Linked DNA regions of Homo sapiens: region 1 is linked to region 2. The links are contacts of gene promoters, found by promoter capture Hi-C in human tissues and cell types (Jung and others, 2019). All regions are on one chromosome and are shown on one strand. Each heading gives the region's core, a stretch centred on a gene start or on the middle of the fragment in contact. The rest is flanking DNA. Distances are from core to core; before and after follow the strand shown. Region 1 overlaps MID2 (midline 2). Region 2 holds the start of TSC22D3 (TSC22 domain family member 3).

Region 1 (7,266 bases), core at 514-3,013, 140 kb before region 2:
ACTTGTCCAAGATCACACAACCAGTAAGAGTCAGAAATATAATTGAGCCCATGTCCATCTGATTCTAAATTCTATAACCTTAACCATTTAGACTGTTCTTTTCTTCAAAAAATTGAGGTATATTTTATATATTTCAGCAATTTTTAGCCATCGCTACACATCAGGATTATCTGGAGGAGCTTTTGCCAAAATATACATGTTTTAGTCCTGTGCAAGATCTTCTAAATCAGAGCCAATGAGATCCTTGAACATGTAAATGATGGTGAGGAAAGAAAAATTCACTTGGCAATAATATGTAGGTTAGAGGAGAGAGAAAAGGCATTGAATGTAGGAAGACCAGAGAGGAAACTTTTATGGTGAACTAGTTGTAAGGGAATGGGAAACTGAAAAATACATATCCTCATGTACATATACCCTGCTATACATCTACCAACAACACCTCTTATTGTTTCTGAAAATAGAGATGTTTCAGTGATAAACTACAGGCCAAATGAAAGACTAGCTCAGTACAATCATAAGGTCTCACATGAATAGCCAGGATTTGGTGAGTAAGGAGACAACAACTTCTTTAGGATAACAGTTAATCTAGAAAATTAGCTCATGGAATTTCTTTCTGGCCTCTCCAATCTTCTTTATTTCCTCCATCCATCTATCCAATACTTATTAAGCACAACTAATGTGCCAGGCACTGTACTGGGCACTGGAGATACACAAAGTGAACAAGCTTTGCTGTGGTTCTTGCCTTCAAGAGCTCACACATCATGAAGGAGAAAGACATTACGTGGGCAATAGAAGTGCTGCTACAAAGGGAGTAGAGCATACACAGGAGTTATCTAAAGAGACTTGGGAGCTAAGGGAAATCTCCCATGTGGAAGTCGATTTTCACCAATGACCTATGTAATGAGTAAGAGTTAACTAAGCAAAGACTATGTGGATGTGTGTGTGTTCTCTCTTGTTTGAAGCCTGGAGAATGAGACAAAATCATGCAGGACTTTGTAGGCCACGTTACAAACGTTGGATTTTATCTTAAGAACGATGGGGGTCACTAAGCATTAGGTGGGGAAATAATATGCTGAAATTCATGTTTCAGGAATACTACTATGGCTTCAGTGGAGGGATTGGAAAGGGTCAAAATTGGAGGCAAAGAGACCAGATTTTAAAGTGTCTTGGAATAAGCATGAGTGTAAACAAACAAAACAAAAAGGGTTAATTCACAAAGCATCAAAGAAAACAAAGTCAAAGCAAACAAATGGCCAATAAATATATTTAAAAAGTCCAACTTTATGAGAAATCAAAGAAATGTAAATTAAAATGAGATAGCGTTTAAATTACAAACAAATGACAGCATAGGAGCTTTTATGCCTATAGTCAATAATGCCTACATATTTGTATTAGGATTGAAATTGATACATATTTTGAAGGCCAAATTAGCATTAAATTTCAAAATAGCTTAAAATATAAGTCTTCTTTGACACCACAGTTCTATTTCATAAAATTTTTATTATGGAAATAATTGAGATGTATGCAAAGATAGAACTACAAGGGCACTCAACACACCATATGTAGCCTGATTGTCTAACAGTGGAGACTGAGTTAAGTAATGTACTATACATCAAAAGATAAAATAACATGAAGCAATTGGAAATCAGGTTTTATAATATCCAATGATATAGAGAAAAGTTTGTGATACATTGTTTCAAATGTAGAGTATAATATAGTATATATAGCATATCATGTTTGTGAAATATATCTAAATAGAAATATTAGAATACCATATTCCTAAATGTTAATGATGGACCAAAGGTTAAGAATGGGTTAAAAGTGACATGGTGGGGTGTGTGTGTGTGTGTATCTGACTGTCTGTGTTTTTTTATTTAAGCAAAACACAACATTAGCGATCTTGTTGCAGTCTCTCAAGGCCTTGGTTTCTATTGCACATAATATAAGGTGTCATTTGTAAGGGGAAAGGCATATCTCTCCCAGCTAAAATTTCATTTTAACTGAAGTCATGGTGGCTTAACACAATACAATGCATAATGGTGGGGGAAAATTTCAGACCCTGTGGGAGACCAGTATTGAAGGTGAGTAGATGATTCTCAAGTCATACTACATAGATAGTCATCTATTCCACCTACACCTCAGGTTATACCTGAGCCTATGCAAAGAAGATTCAGATAAAGAGTTGGGAATCATAACCATCTAGATGGTAATTGAAGCCCTAGGAACCAATGAGTTTGCAACAAGGAGAACGTGTAATGAGAGAAGAGAATAACCTAAGACACAATCACAAAGAACAATAGCATTAAAGGAATAGGCCAAGGAAACATTGCTCACAAAGGCAAAACAAAACAAAAACAACAAAGTAGGAAGAAAACCAGGAGTGTTCATGGAAGGTAAGGGCAGAGAAATTTCAAGTAAAAATGTTCAGGAGGACAAATGCTACTGAGAGATCAAGTAAGATGAAACAAAGGGGTGTCTATTATATTTAGCAACAAGGTATTCATTTGATGACCTTGAAAAGAATACTTTCAATGGTGTGGTAGTGGGACAAAACATTTCAGAGGGTTGGAGAGCAGAGATTATTAAATACAGTGGTTTGAATATATGTTTTATTTTTGCTTTCATGAAATCTCACTGAAATAACAGTCAAAGAATGAAATGTCATAAACCCACAAAGACAAAGAGAATGGAAAAGAGATGCCAACAAGTAAAAGATTGTCAACAAATGTTTGGAAGCTAGAAAGGGATGAATGTGTGGTAACCAATAACAGTCCAGAGAAAGCTAGATCAGGAAGCCAACAACATCAAGTTGATTTAGTGCCACAGAAAGTTGAAAGTTTGCATGAGGAACAACTAGATCCACAGATCCATGCACACTAAACCAGAGACTACCCTTCCCTCATTCTGGCAGGATATGTGAGTTTTACTTTCTGCTGATCTTTGACATTATACTAAAAGCAGTCTTAAAACTCTCAGCTCCTTTTCCCTCCTTGGCTCCCAGAATGCTGGCAGCCAGGCTTATACCTTCCACACCGCTGCCCCTCCAATCAAAAGCAGGAGATTGGAGGATTTCATCCAAGGGAAACTGACCCAAGAGAAAAGACCTACAGAACTGACACTTGGGAGTCCATCAATAAAAAGCCAGCATTCCGCCTTATAATCCTATAGCAAAGTTCACCAACCCATAAATTATTCCCATCCACTCAGAGTTTCCAGTCATCTTTTAGTGCTTAAACTCAAACACACAGCCAGTAGTTTGCCAGATATTTAGGAAAAGACAGCAATTTAAACTAACAGAGAAAAGGAACTGGGAGGAAACCCAGACAATGCAGGGTTTAGAAGCAAACTTTTAAAAATGACAATATTCTCAAGAAGAAAACCAAATAGTTCGTATCCACAAAGCAAAAACAGAATGCTAAAAAAGAAACAAGGTGAAGGATGAGCTCTTGTGAATAAAATTAGGAATGCTGAAATTAAAATTTCAATAGAAGGATTTAATGAAAAATTAAGGAAGTATCTTAGTAAAATAAGAAGACAAAGTCATGGAAAATGGAAAAGATAAAATTAGAGAAAAAAAGTCTAGGATGTCCAACAGTTCACTAATCAAAGTCCCATAAACAAAGAAGAGAAAGAATAAAGGGGAGGAAATTATTAGCAAATAATACAAGAACATTTCCCAGAGCTAGAGGTCACCAGTCTTTAGATTAGAAAGATTCACTGAGTGCCCAGGAAAAATGAATGACAAAAAGTCCACAACGCGCCAGACACGGTGGCTCACACCTGTAATCTCAGCACTTTGGGAGGCCAAGGTGGGCAGATCACTGGAGATCAGGAGTTCGAGACCACCCTGGCCAACATGGTGAAACCACATCTCTACTAAAAATACCAAAATTAGCCGGGCGTAATGGCGTGAGCCTGTAGTCCCAGCTACCAGGGAGGCTGAGGCAGAAGAATCACTTGAATCTGGGAGGCAGAGATTGCAGTGAGCTGAGATCGTGCCACTGCACTCCAGCCTGGGCAACAGAACAAGAAGAAAGAAAGAAGGAAAGAGAGAGAGAGGGAGAAAGAGAGAGGGAAAGGAAAGGAAAGGAAAGGAAAGGAAAGGAAAGGAAAGGAAAGGAAAGGAAAGGAAAGGAAAGGAAAATCTATAACAGAGGCAAATCTTGATGAAATTTCAGAAAAACTGGGTTAAAGATAAGATCTTTAAAACTTCTAGATCGTAATGGCTATTATTAAAAGGAGGAAGGATAAGTGCTGGTGAGGATGTAGAGAAAAGGGAACCCTTATACATTGTTGGTGGGAATATAAATTAGTACAGCCATTATAAAAAACAGTATGGAGGTTCCTCAAAAAACTAAAAATAGAACTACTGTAGGATCCAGCAATCCCACTAGTCAGTATATATCCAAAGAAGTTGAAATCAATATGTCAAAGAAATATCTGCATTCCCATGTTCACTGAAGCATTATTCAGAATAGCCAAGATATGGTATCTACCTAAGTTTCTATCAATGGATGAATGGATAAAGAAAATGTGGTATAGATACATAATGTAATACCTTTCAGCCACTGAAGTTGGAGGAAATCCTGTTATCCTTGACAGCATAAATGAACCTGGAGGATGTATGCTAAGTAAAATAAGCCAGGCACAGAAAGACAAATACCATATGATCTCGCACATAGGTGGAATCTGAAAAAATCAAACTCATAGAAATAGAGAGTAGAATGGTGGTTACTAGAGGCTGGTATGAGGAGGGAATGGGGAGTTGTTGGACAAAGGGTATAAAGTTTCAGTTAGACAGGAGGAATAAGTTTCTGAGATCTGTTGTGCAGCAGTGTGAATATAATCAATAATAACATATTGTATGTTTCAAAATAGCTAAAAGAGTAAATCTCAATGGCTGACCACAAAAAATGGTGAGGTAATGGATATGTTAATTGGCTTTGATTAGTCATTCCACATTGTATGCATATATGAAAACATCACATTGCAACCCATTAATGTATACAACTATGATTTGTCAATTAAAAGTAATATTAACTTTTGTTTAAGCTTCTGGATTTTAAAACATAGGTTATATTCAAAAGATCTGGATTCAAAACGGCAGTGAACGTCTCAACACAATAATGGAAGCCAGGAGACAATGAAGTCATGCCTTCAAAATTTATTTCCAACCTATCAAGTGTGAAAATTAACTTGAAATATTTTTAGGCAAAAAGTTCTTGAAAATTTACTTCCCATGTACTCTTTCTTAAGAAACTACAGGAGCGTTTGTTTGAAAAGCTTAAGGGAATCAAGTGGTACAGGAAGGGGAAATCCAGGCAGAGCCCAATGAGTTCCCTAAAATTAAGGAGACAGAGCTGAGAATCCAAGTGGACGAAGTTGGCTGGAGTTCACAGGACATAGTACCAGAGAGGAAAAAGCTGCAGAGAGAATTCTAGAGACCTTCAGAGTTTCCCTCTAGTAGTCAACAGAATACTGATCAACAAATGCATGCGAGGAAACTGCATAATGCTGGGGAAAGAGCCACCCAAAAAGATAAGAGGGAACAATCCCTGGTACTCACATAGGTCTAGCAATAGTGTGTGTTCCTACCAGCTAAACTGGAAAATCTCATGACTCACAGGACACTGGAATAGAGTACTCAGAAGGGTTTTGCCTCAGTAGTGGAGAAAAATTGTCTCTAGACTAAACATTGCTCTGATCTCACCTATCAAATCTGAAAACCAAGACTTGAAAGGATCAAGCTGTTTTCAAGTAACTTAACTGTGTCTCAGAACAAAGTTTAAGAATATTTATAGGAATACAAAAATATACAGCATCCCGAAAGAGAAAATTAACAAGTCTGATATCCAGTAAAAAATTACCTGATAGGCAAAAAATCAAGAAAATACAATCCATAATGAGAAGAAAAGGCAACCAATTGAAACGGACCCAGATATGACACAGGTATTAGAATTAGCAAGCAAGGACATAAAAGCAATTATTTTAACTGTATTCCATATGTTCAGAAAGCTAGAGGAAAGGCTAAATATCTTTTTTTGTTTTCAGAGACAAGACATTGTCCTGTTGCCCAGGCTGGAGTGCAGTGGCAGCATCGTGACCCACTGTACCCTTGAACTCCTGGGCTCAGAAGATCCTCTTGCTTCAGCCTCCCAAGTAGCTAGGACTACAGGCACATGTCACCAGATGCAGGCTTTTTTTTTTTTTTTTTTAGATGGAATCTCGCTATGTTGCCCAGGCTGGTCTCAAGTGATCTTCCCACCTCAGCCTCCCAGAGTGCTGTGATTAAAGGTGTGAGCCACCACACCCAGCCTGAATATCTTGAGATATGGAAGACATTTTTTAAAAGACCCAAATCAAACTAGAGATGAAAGTTATAATATCTAAGATAAAAAATACACTGGAGGGGTTAACAGCAGATTAGGTATCACAGAAGAAAAGGCTAGTGAACTTGAAGATATATCAATAGAAGCTATCCAAAATGAAACACACTTGCATGTGTTTTCACAATGGCAAAAAAATAAAAAGACTGCAAAACAAAAATAGAGCATTGGTAAGCTATAGGACAATTTCAGACAGCCAAATATACATGTAATTGGAATCCCGAATAGAGAGGAAGGAAGTGGCATAAAAATATTTGTAGAAGTAGTGGCAGAAAAAAAGTCCAAATTTGCAGAAGTTAATTGATACTGTCTAAAGTTGAAAAAAATTAAAACTACCAATGTAAGGATGTTATTTAGAAATGTAAGGTCATGCCAATAAAAACATCTGATAGAGCTGAAATTGCTTGGCTTTGTTGTAAAAGTGTAGACTGTGGCACTAGACTCCCTAAATTTGAATCTTGCCTGTGCCCCTTACTAGTTGGACAATTGTAAGCAAGTTATTTAACCTCTCTGAACATCGTTCTCTCATTTATAAAATGGGGATAAAAGTAGTATCTACCTCATAAAGTTTTTTTGAGGATTAAGTGAGTTAATACTTATGAAGGCTTAAAATAATGCCCAGTACAAAGTAAGAACTCTATTGATAATGGTATTATCAGAGAGCAGACATTGAGAATGAGGAGATTGCTATTTCTTGCAATATGACTTATAGTAATATTTTACTTTCTAACTATGCACAAGGTATTACTTGGATATAAATACATTTTAAATATTTCAGAAGAGTAAATTAGGGGTGAAGAAATGTAAAGTCTTTCGCGAAGTTTGCTGTGCAGGGAAGGAGAGGGACAGGTGATAATTGGAGGGGATATGAAGTAGAGGA
Region 2 (7,673 bases), core at 424-2,923:
CTACTCTTGGAACCAACGCACTGTGGATTCCACCAGGAGGTACCTCTGGTGCCTCTCCGAGCTTCTGTGACGCAGGCAGAGAACGTTCAACGTCTTGGACACTAGATGGCAGTATATGCTGCTCTATTTCAAAGGCCAGACTTGTGAATGAAGGAGCCGATGCGGGGGTGGGGAGTACTGACTGAAATGTAAGTCAGTTTTACGTGAAAACTGAACGTCATGAAAAGTTTAGTTTTTTCAGACACTAATCGTTATTTAATCCTACACATTTAAAGTATTCCAAGTCTCTGAGTCCTGAGAAACCCTGGAAACCCACCACTTGCCCACCCAGAACATCCCTCCATCTTACAGAGCTGGGGCACGCCCCTCAGGCCTGTGAACATGCAATCGCTACATCTATTGAAAGGGTAACGACAGACGGAGATCAACTAAGGTGGCAGGTAAGGTTCAGAAAAGGAGAAGGACAACAAATTTGGAGAAATAGGAGAAGGTAAGTGAAGTGAGGAAAAAGAGGGGGTGCTGAAGTAAGAAATGAGGGGAAAATAAGGGAAATGGCGGGGGTAGGGGAGAGAAAAATGAGAGAAAAGAGGAAAGGGGAGAAAGGGGAAATGAGGAAATAGAGAAAAGGAGAAAAGAAATAAGGAAAGAAAGGTAAAAGAATGGAAATGGGGGAGAAAGTAGAGGAAATGGGTAAAGAAAAGAGAAAAAATAAGGGAAATAGTGGAATGAGTGGAAGCAGAAGAGCAGAGAGAAGGAAGGGGAGGACTGAGGAGAGACGGCGAAGGGGCAGAGGGAAACCGGGACAGAGACTGCCTCTGAGGGGTTCAGGGAAGAGAGGACACAGCGAGCTGGGGAAAGGAGGTGACGATATCGTTAAGTAAGCAGAAAGAGACAGAAACTGAGGAGAGTTTGAGCGTGCTTCTCTGAGTTTTGCTTACGGCATTTATTGGGTACTCCTAATGTGTGCCTGGCACTCTCTGACTCTCTGCAGAGGCAACCGCTCTCCTTGCACGCCCCCCCCCCAGAAAAAGGGGGGCTTTGGAGGGCGGCAGTTTAAGGCTACAACACTTGGGGCTCTCGAGGGCGTCGTCTCTTCTGTAGGGGGACCCATTCGAGGTGAGACTAGAGACATTTGCCCTCACGCCGAGCTCGAGCCCCGCGAGACCGGGCCACTGAGGGGGCACGGCAGCCCGGGTGGGCTGCGTGCGTATTTCTGGCGGAGGATGCGCCATGAGCGCTGAAAGAGCCTGAACCGAAGCGTCCGGCTCGCCGAGAGAGTGAGAGCCGGGCCGGCTCCCAGGAGCGCGGGCGAGGGTGCGAGCGGCAGCGTGGATGCCAGGGCACAAGGGTGCGGGCGGGGTGGGGCGAGGGGTGGAGGGACAGGATCCAGCCGCTCGGGGCCCCCGCCCGCCAGCCGGAGAAGTGGCGGAGGACCGTTCTCCGCCGTCCCCTCTAGGGTAATTTACATGCTGTCATATCCCAGTGCTGACTCCCGGGCGTGCAGACCGCTAACTAGCTCACTCGCTCTCAGCTCCTGCCACCGCTCAGCCGTCACAGCCCAGGGGAGCCCGAGAGCCTGAGAGCCTGCAAACCGGGGAGGGAGGGAGCAAAGGAGGGAGGGAGCAAGGGCGCGCCCTGGCTCTCCCTCTGCCCTGCTGCCCGCCCTTCCTGCCTCCACAGGTCCGCCCCAATCCCCGCTCACACTTGGGAAACTTGGGACTGCGCTGGGGCCGCGTGTGGCACCTCAGGGGGGCGGCCCCCGGCCTCAAGAGGAGGGGGAGGAGAAGGAGGAAGAGGAGGAAGTGAGCCCGAAGGATCCGCTCGGAGCTGTTTGTCCAGCTGTTTCTATTCGCACCCGGAGCAGTACAGCCAGAAGGGGGCCGAGCCGAAGGTGGCTGGCTTTAGGCGCTAATTTCCAACTCTTTTCCTCACAGCTTGTCTTTTCCAGGCACCCTGGAGTCCCCTCAGGCCAGCTCGGTGGGCGCGCACCTGCCAGCCGCCCCTGACCTCGCAGGCCAGGCGACCTCCGAGCCTGAGAAGATGGCCCAGTCCAAGCTCGATTGCCGCTCACCTGTCGGCCTCGACTGCTGCAACTGCTGCCTGGACCTGGCCCATCGGAGTGGGCTCCAGCGAGGCAGCAGCGGGGAGAACAACAACCCGGGCAGCCCTACAGTGAGCAACTTTCGGCAGCTGCAGGAAAAGCTGGTCTTTGAGAACCTCAATACCGACAAGCTCAACAGCATAATGCGGCAGGATTCGCTAGAGCCGGTGCTGCGGGACCCCTGCTACCTGATCAACGAGGGCATCTGCAACCGCAACATCGACCAGACCATGCTCTCCATCCTGCTCTTCTTCCACAGGTGGGTGGCTCGGCACACGGCGGCAACTCGGTCCTTGCTCCCACCAGCCTCTGCTGCACCCTCATCTCTGGCAAAAGGGGCAACTAGGAAGTTCAGGAGGGGTACTGGGGAGGTCTGACTCAGGCTACAGTGACTGGACCTTGAGGTTGCCTGGAGTACCGCGGAGCTGAGGGGAGGACTGGCAGGTGCAAGCCCTATTCTGAAAGCTGCCTGCAAAGGCTTTCTGATGGGGACGCTGGGGCCTAGAAGGTGGGCAGACCCCAGATGGTTTGGAGGTAGCTGAAAGTACCCGCTCCTCAAATGCATACATTTCCATAGCCCCTTTGGAGATTCTGCCATGGGGTCTTCTTGAGTTCCAAGTTCTACCCTTCTCAAAAGCCCATCTCAAATGTGCAAAATCAGATTGAAACTACAAGGGCTTTAAAATTACTGAGTGCCCCTGACTGACAGTGAGGGCAAGCAAAATGTCAAGACAAATTAAACTGCTGGTGGTAGGAGAGGGAGATGGGGAGGGGAAAATTTTTAAAAATCAGAGACTTGTGAGAATTTCTTGAGCCTCTGGATGGGAGGGATTCGCCTCCTCCATGGATCACAGCGTTAAATTTCAAATGTAAGCTAAGCGCAACCCCAGAGAGCACCCTAGGACATCTTGAGTGCCTCAAGAACTATGTGTGGCAGGAGGGCGGATGAATCCATGTCGTTGCAGGCGTGTATTGGTGTACCGGTCAAGCTTTCTAGAAATCCTGCTGGGGAGGCAAGGAGAGGACAAGGGAGGGAAAAAACACAATGGGAAGACCCAAGGCAGCTGCTGTCCTTCAGTTTGAGACACTCTGGCAAGAACCAGTCTCTGGGAACAACTGAGGCAATTTAGAGGCAGGGCAGACAACATCAGGAAACCCAGCCATGGATTTAGTGTCCTTAGCGCCATCAGGATAGGGCACCAACATGTGTGTGTGAGTGTATAAGCGAGGATTTATTCTTGCTCAACAACACAGGTTATGTAAGAGAAAGACATCGCCACTGTGGGAGACCTGGGTTGTAGTACAAGTTATGGCTTCACCTGTTTGTATGAGCCTGAGCAAGTCGCCTGACCTCTCTAGTCTCTCCAAGGTTCCTTTTAGCTCTGAGATTCTAGGCTGTAGGCAGGCGATGTGCCCAGACAAAGTGATAAGAAATTCTGAGCACCTACAAAATATTTAGAATGCAAGCAGGCTCAAATAGGAAATTTTAAAAGCAATCGAGAAAGGCAGGCGCTATTCTCACTTAATGCTAAGAGCAGGTTTGCCTCCCTTGCCCCAAGACAAATCCACCATCGCCTCCCGCTCAGCCCAGCCCCAGTGATTCTGGGCAAGACAAGCAGGGCCGCTAACCTCGTTAGTGTTATTATAACAAGTCGTATTCCTCGGGCATTTTCGACACCATTGAAGCCCTTTCTCATCTATTATTTCACTTTAGGCATCAAATTATCTCATTGTCTAAAATAAACCAGGCTGAATTTTTAAAAATAATAAAATAAAATAAACCAGGCTGCGGGCAGAAAGGTTTCGAGGGAATCTTCATTTCTAGTGAAAGATTACTACAAGTGTATTCAGCCCACAGACGTTGAAATCCTGCCAAGCGAAAGCCCTAACAGGCTCCTAAGGATCCCGCCTGTCTCTGTTGGAGAGTGGCAGTGGGGGAGGGGTAGTAGAAAAACCTGGAAAGAGCGCTTGTAGCATTTGCATTTGTTCAACTGGGAGAGAAACTGCCACTCCAGGCTTTAGGAAAGTGTGAGAGGGGGCGCCTCTTCTGGTTCTGGCCCTAGGAGGGTCAAACCTGGGTGAGGGAAGTGTGAGGCTAAAAGCCTGAGATCAAAGTGTTTCCTTCTGCCACACCTCGGGAGCATCCTGGTTGTTTGGGTTTGTGGAAAGGGAATACCTCCTTTGTCATCTACTCCACTAATACGAGTTTATTGACTCTTGGTTTTAGGCAAAGCCTGGAAATGCTACAGGGTGGAGATGTAGTGGGGTGGCATTATAGGTATTGGTTGAGGGAGAAGCGCAAATTGTAGGAAAGGTTTGTGTGAGCACCCTGCCTCCTTCGATCAGAGCAACTCACTCAGCGTTCAAAACCAGTGAGGAGCTAACCAGCAAGCTCTCAGGCTTCGCTAAGGCTGGGAATAACAGGGTCCTGTGGTAACAGTCTTATAGTTCTAAGAGGACAAAGTATTCTCTTGCTTTTATTTATTTTTATTTATTTATTTTTTTCCTGAGACAGGGTCTCACTCTGTCACCCAGGCTGGAGTGCAGTTGCATGATCACAGCTCACTGCAGCCTCAAACTCCTGGGCTCCATCGATCCTCCCACTTCAGCCTCCCAAGTAGCTGGGACTACAGGCACACACCACCATGCCCAGCTAATTTTTGTATTTTTTTTTTATAGGGACGGGATCTTGCCATGTTGTGCAGGCTGGTCTCAAACTCCTGGGCTTAAGCGACCTGCCCACCTCAGCCTCCCAAAGTGCCAGGATCACAGGCATGAGCCACTGATCCCCTCTTGTTTTCCTTGACAATTGGGACCTTAGAGACTGGGGATTCTGAATTCGGTTTAGGTTTTGCCCAGTATGACATGCTCATTAGCAAACTAGAAGACCATTATTGCTGGTCATGGGGCTTCTCCAATATCTGGGGTAGACAGCCTTCTCCTAAGTGAACATATCCCTTGTTACTTCATTAAATTCCCTGGGTTTCTATCATCATACTTCAGCCATCGTTTTTACTTCTATTCAATTTAATGATTTGACATTTCAGGTTCCTGTTGGGTGCTTTTTTCCTTTGTCAACTTTCAAGGCCTCTCCTGCTGGAGAAGCTAGTCTCCCACCCCTCCTCCTGCAGTCCATTCCTTTGCCAAGAGGGCTCCTATATTTTTAGGAAGAAGAGCAGGGCACATTCTTGATTTACATCTGGTTTGTCTGCTTTGACCTGTCCCTGGCTCCCAGCTTCGTTCTTGGTTTCCTTGGAACACAAGAGTATAAGCAATTTGAGGGTAGGGCTGTGTTTTACTTGCTTGGTTTTCCCTTGGCTTTTAGTTATACAGCCAATATTCAATAAAGGTTTCTTCAGTTGGATGACTACTTAAATATTGACGTGGTCCCTTGTAAAGATTTTACAACTTTATACTGTGCTAGAAAATCCTTATTAATGTTTAAAAGTTGTTTTCCTTCCGTTTTAACCACATGCAGTAACTCTCATAGCCTGATGGAAGTCCTGATAGTGCTGTGTATATACATACGAATCAGTGAGAATGGGCATGCAGCCTGTTGGTATGTAAATGGTACCTGTAAACAATTGGGTTGGGGAAGAAGTGTATTTTAAACACCATCCTTTCAATCTTGTATTATGTAACTAATAACCATAACAGATTAATAACTAACACTTCTTGAACATTCACAATGTACCTGCATAATCTAATTTAATATTTACATCAACTCTTTGGAATGGATTTATTTATTTATTTGTTTATTTATTTATTTATTTTGAGACGGAGTCTTGTTCTGTCGCCCAGGCTGGAGTGCAGTGGCACGATCTCAGCTCACTGCAGTCTCCACCTCCTGGGTTCAAGCAATTCCCCTGTCTCAGCCTCCTCAGTAGCTGGGACTACAGGCGCACGCCACCACACTCGGCTAATTTTTGTATTTTTCGTAGAGATGGGGTTTCACCATATTAGTCAGGCTGGTCTCGATCTCCTGATCTCAAATGATCCACCAGCCTCGGCCTCCCAAGGTGCTGGGATTACAGGCATGAGCCACTGCGCCCGACCAAATGGGTACTATTATCATCCATTTTCATTTTATAAAGAAGGAAATTGAGGCTTGGAAAAAATTAAGTATCTTGCCCAATGCCTCACAATGAAGAGCAGAGCCTGAATTGTCTATGAAGAAAGAATTGTTAAGAACACTCAGTAACTAAACTAATGCTAAAGAAATTCTTGTAACACTTAAGAATTGTCTATGAAGCAGAGGTAAATGTGAGCTCAGAACCTTTCCAAATGGTCAAAATGTCCTTATTAGGTAGGGAAACCAACCATCCCAGTCCTGTGACATAGGACTGCCTGTGCTCAAACTGGAACAGTCCTAGGGAAACTGGGATGGTTGGTCACCCTGTTGTTAGGGGACTTCCCCCTTGTCATTTGAATATGCTTCTAATACTGGAAAACTTAGGAGGGAGATAGAATATTCTGGGCAAACAGCAGAAGTTTCCAATTTAAATGTAGCATATGAAAAAGCTTCCCAAGTTGACATTTGAAGAGCCTTCCTTAATTTTTCTGACCTGTAAGGTATAACAACCTGTAACAGGAGCTTTGACAGTATTCGTTGTGATTGCTGTTGCTGTAACCTCAAATTTTTTTCTAAGATTTTACCCAAAACCTCTTAATCAGCTCTATTCTACCTTTGACCCCAGAGCGTACCTGGCTAGTGTGGTCTGAAATACTCTGAATCCGATTTCCCTTCCAGCTCTAAAAACCCTAGGATTCTACCTTTAAGCTTCTGACCTGGCCCCAACTGGTTCCCATATATAAATGCTCAGAAAATGATAAAAATAGCAAACATTTCTAATTGCTTTATGTGTGCTAATTCATTTAATATCCCCTATTAATATAGTAACAAAGGGGAAGGATATAGATTCAGAGATCAGGTTTTCAAGAAAAATTTGTGCAAAAAATTATTTGTGCTTCTCTAAGTGAGTCTCAGAACAAGTAATTTCATAATGTATATTCCTGGACCTGGCTTCTGAGGTGGTGGCCACTCACACGGCATGATTTGAGTGGCTGCCTGCTGCAGTGCCTAAGTTCATACTATTTAAGATTCAGTTCTCTGTCCATGTACCATCTAAAATTCCTCTCCCAGAGCACCGCTGGTATGTAGACCACACTGTGAGAAACCCTGTATTAGAGATTGCAACGCATTGTCAACTAATTTACCATTTGATTTTGAGGATGGAGTTACTCGCTGTAGAGCGGTTTTGGGTTTCTGTGTGGTTAAGCCTGTCATTCTTTGCCTTTGTGATTTTTGCTTTTGGTATCAAGCTTCAAAAGTCCTTTCATAGCCCAAAGTAATTTAAAATAACTATTTCCTGAGTGCCTAGTGGTCTGACAAAGAATAGGCATTCTTGGATTAAGGGACCTTCTCCATTAAAAGCACAAATGCATTTGCAAACTTAACATTCATGGTTTGGATACTTCATGAGAACTCAGACTGGTAAGAAACTGTGTTTTTGCTGAGGCACAGATGTGAATCACATGTGCAAGGAGACTAGTAGGTGGGGGCCGGTCCTTT

The links. Contacts are between HindIII fragments. The study calls those that stand out against the background at their distance.
Region 1: a contact is called between a fragment that was not itself captured here and the fragment with the promoter of TSC22D3 in region 2, in 2 of the 25 tissues and cell types used here (heart left ventricle and hippocampus).

The regions. Positions count from the first base shown.
Region 1 is chrX:107,907,646-107,914,911 of GRCh38, reverse strand. All of the region lies in intron 5 of MID2 (midline 2), which reads right to left. All of the region lies in intron 3 of LOC101928335 (a long non-coding RNA gene), which reads left to right. Among named protein-coding and RNA genes, the nearest start is that of TEX13B, 71 kb to the left of the region's middle. The HindIII fragment of the contact is 6,811 bases long and covers 1-5,168 here.
Region 2 is chrX:107,769,787-107,777,459 of GRCh38, reverse strand. TSC22D3 (TSC22 domain family member 3) reads left to right here and starts at 1,673. Exons shown (of 3, transcript NM_198057.3): 1 at 1,673-2,360. The coding sequence starts at 2,041. RefSeq lists silencers at 1,334-1,393, 1,367-1,661 and enhancers at 1,424-1,473, 1,750-2,326, 2,327-2,904. The HindIII fragment of the contact is 10,233 bases long and covers 1-4,856 here.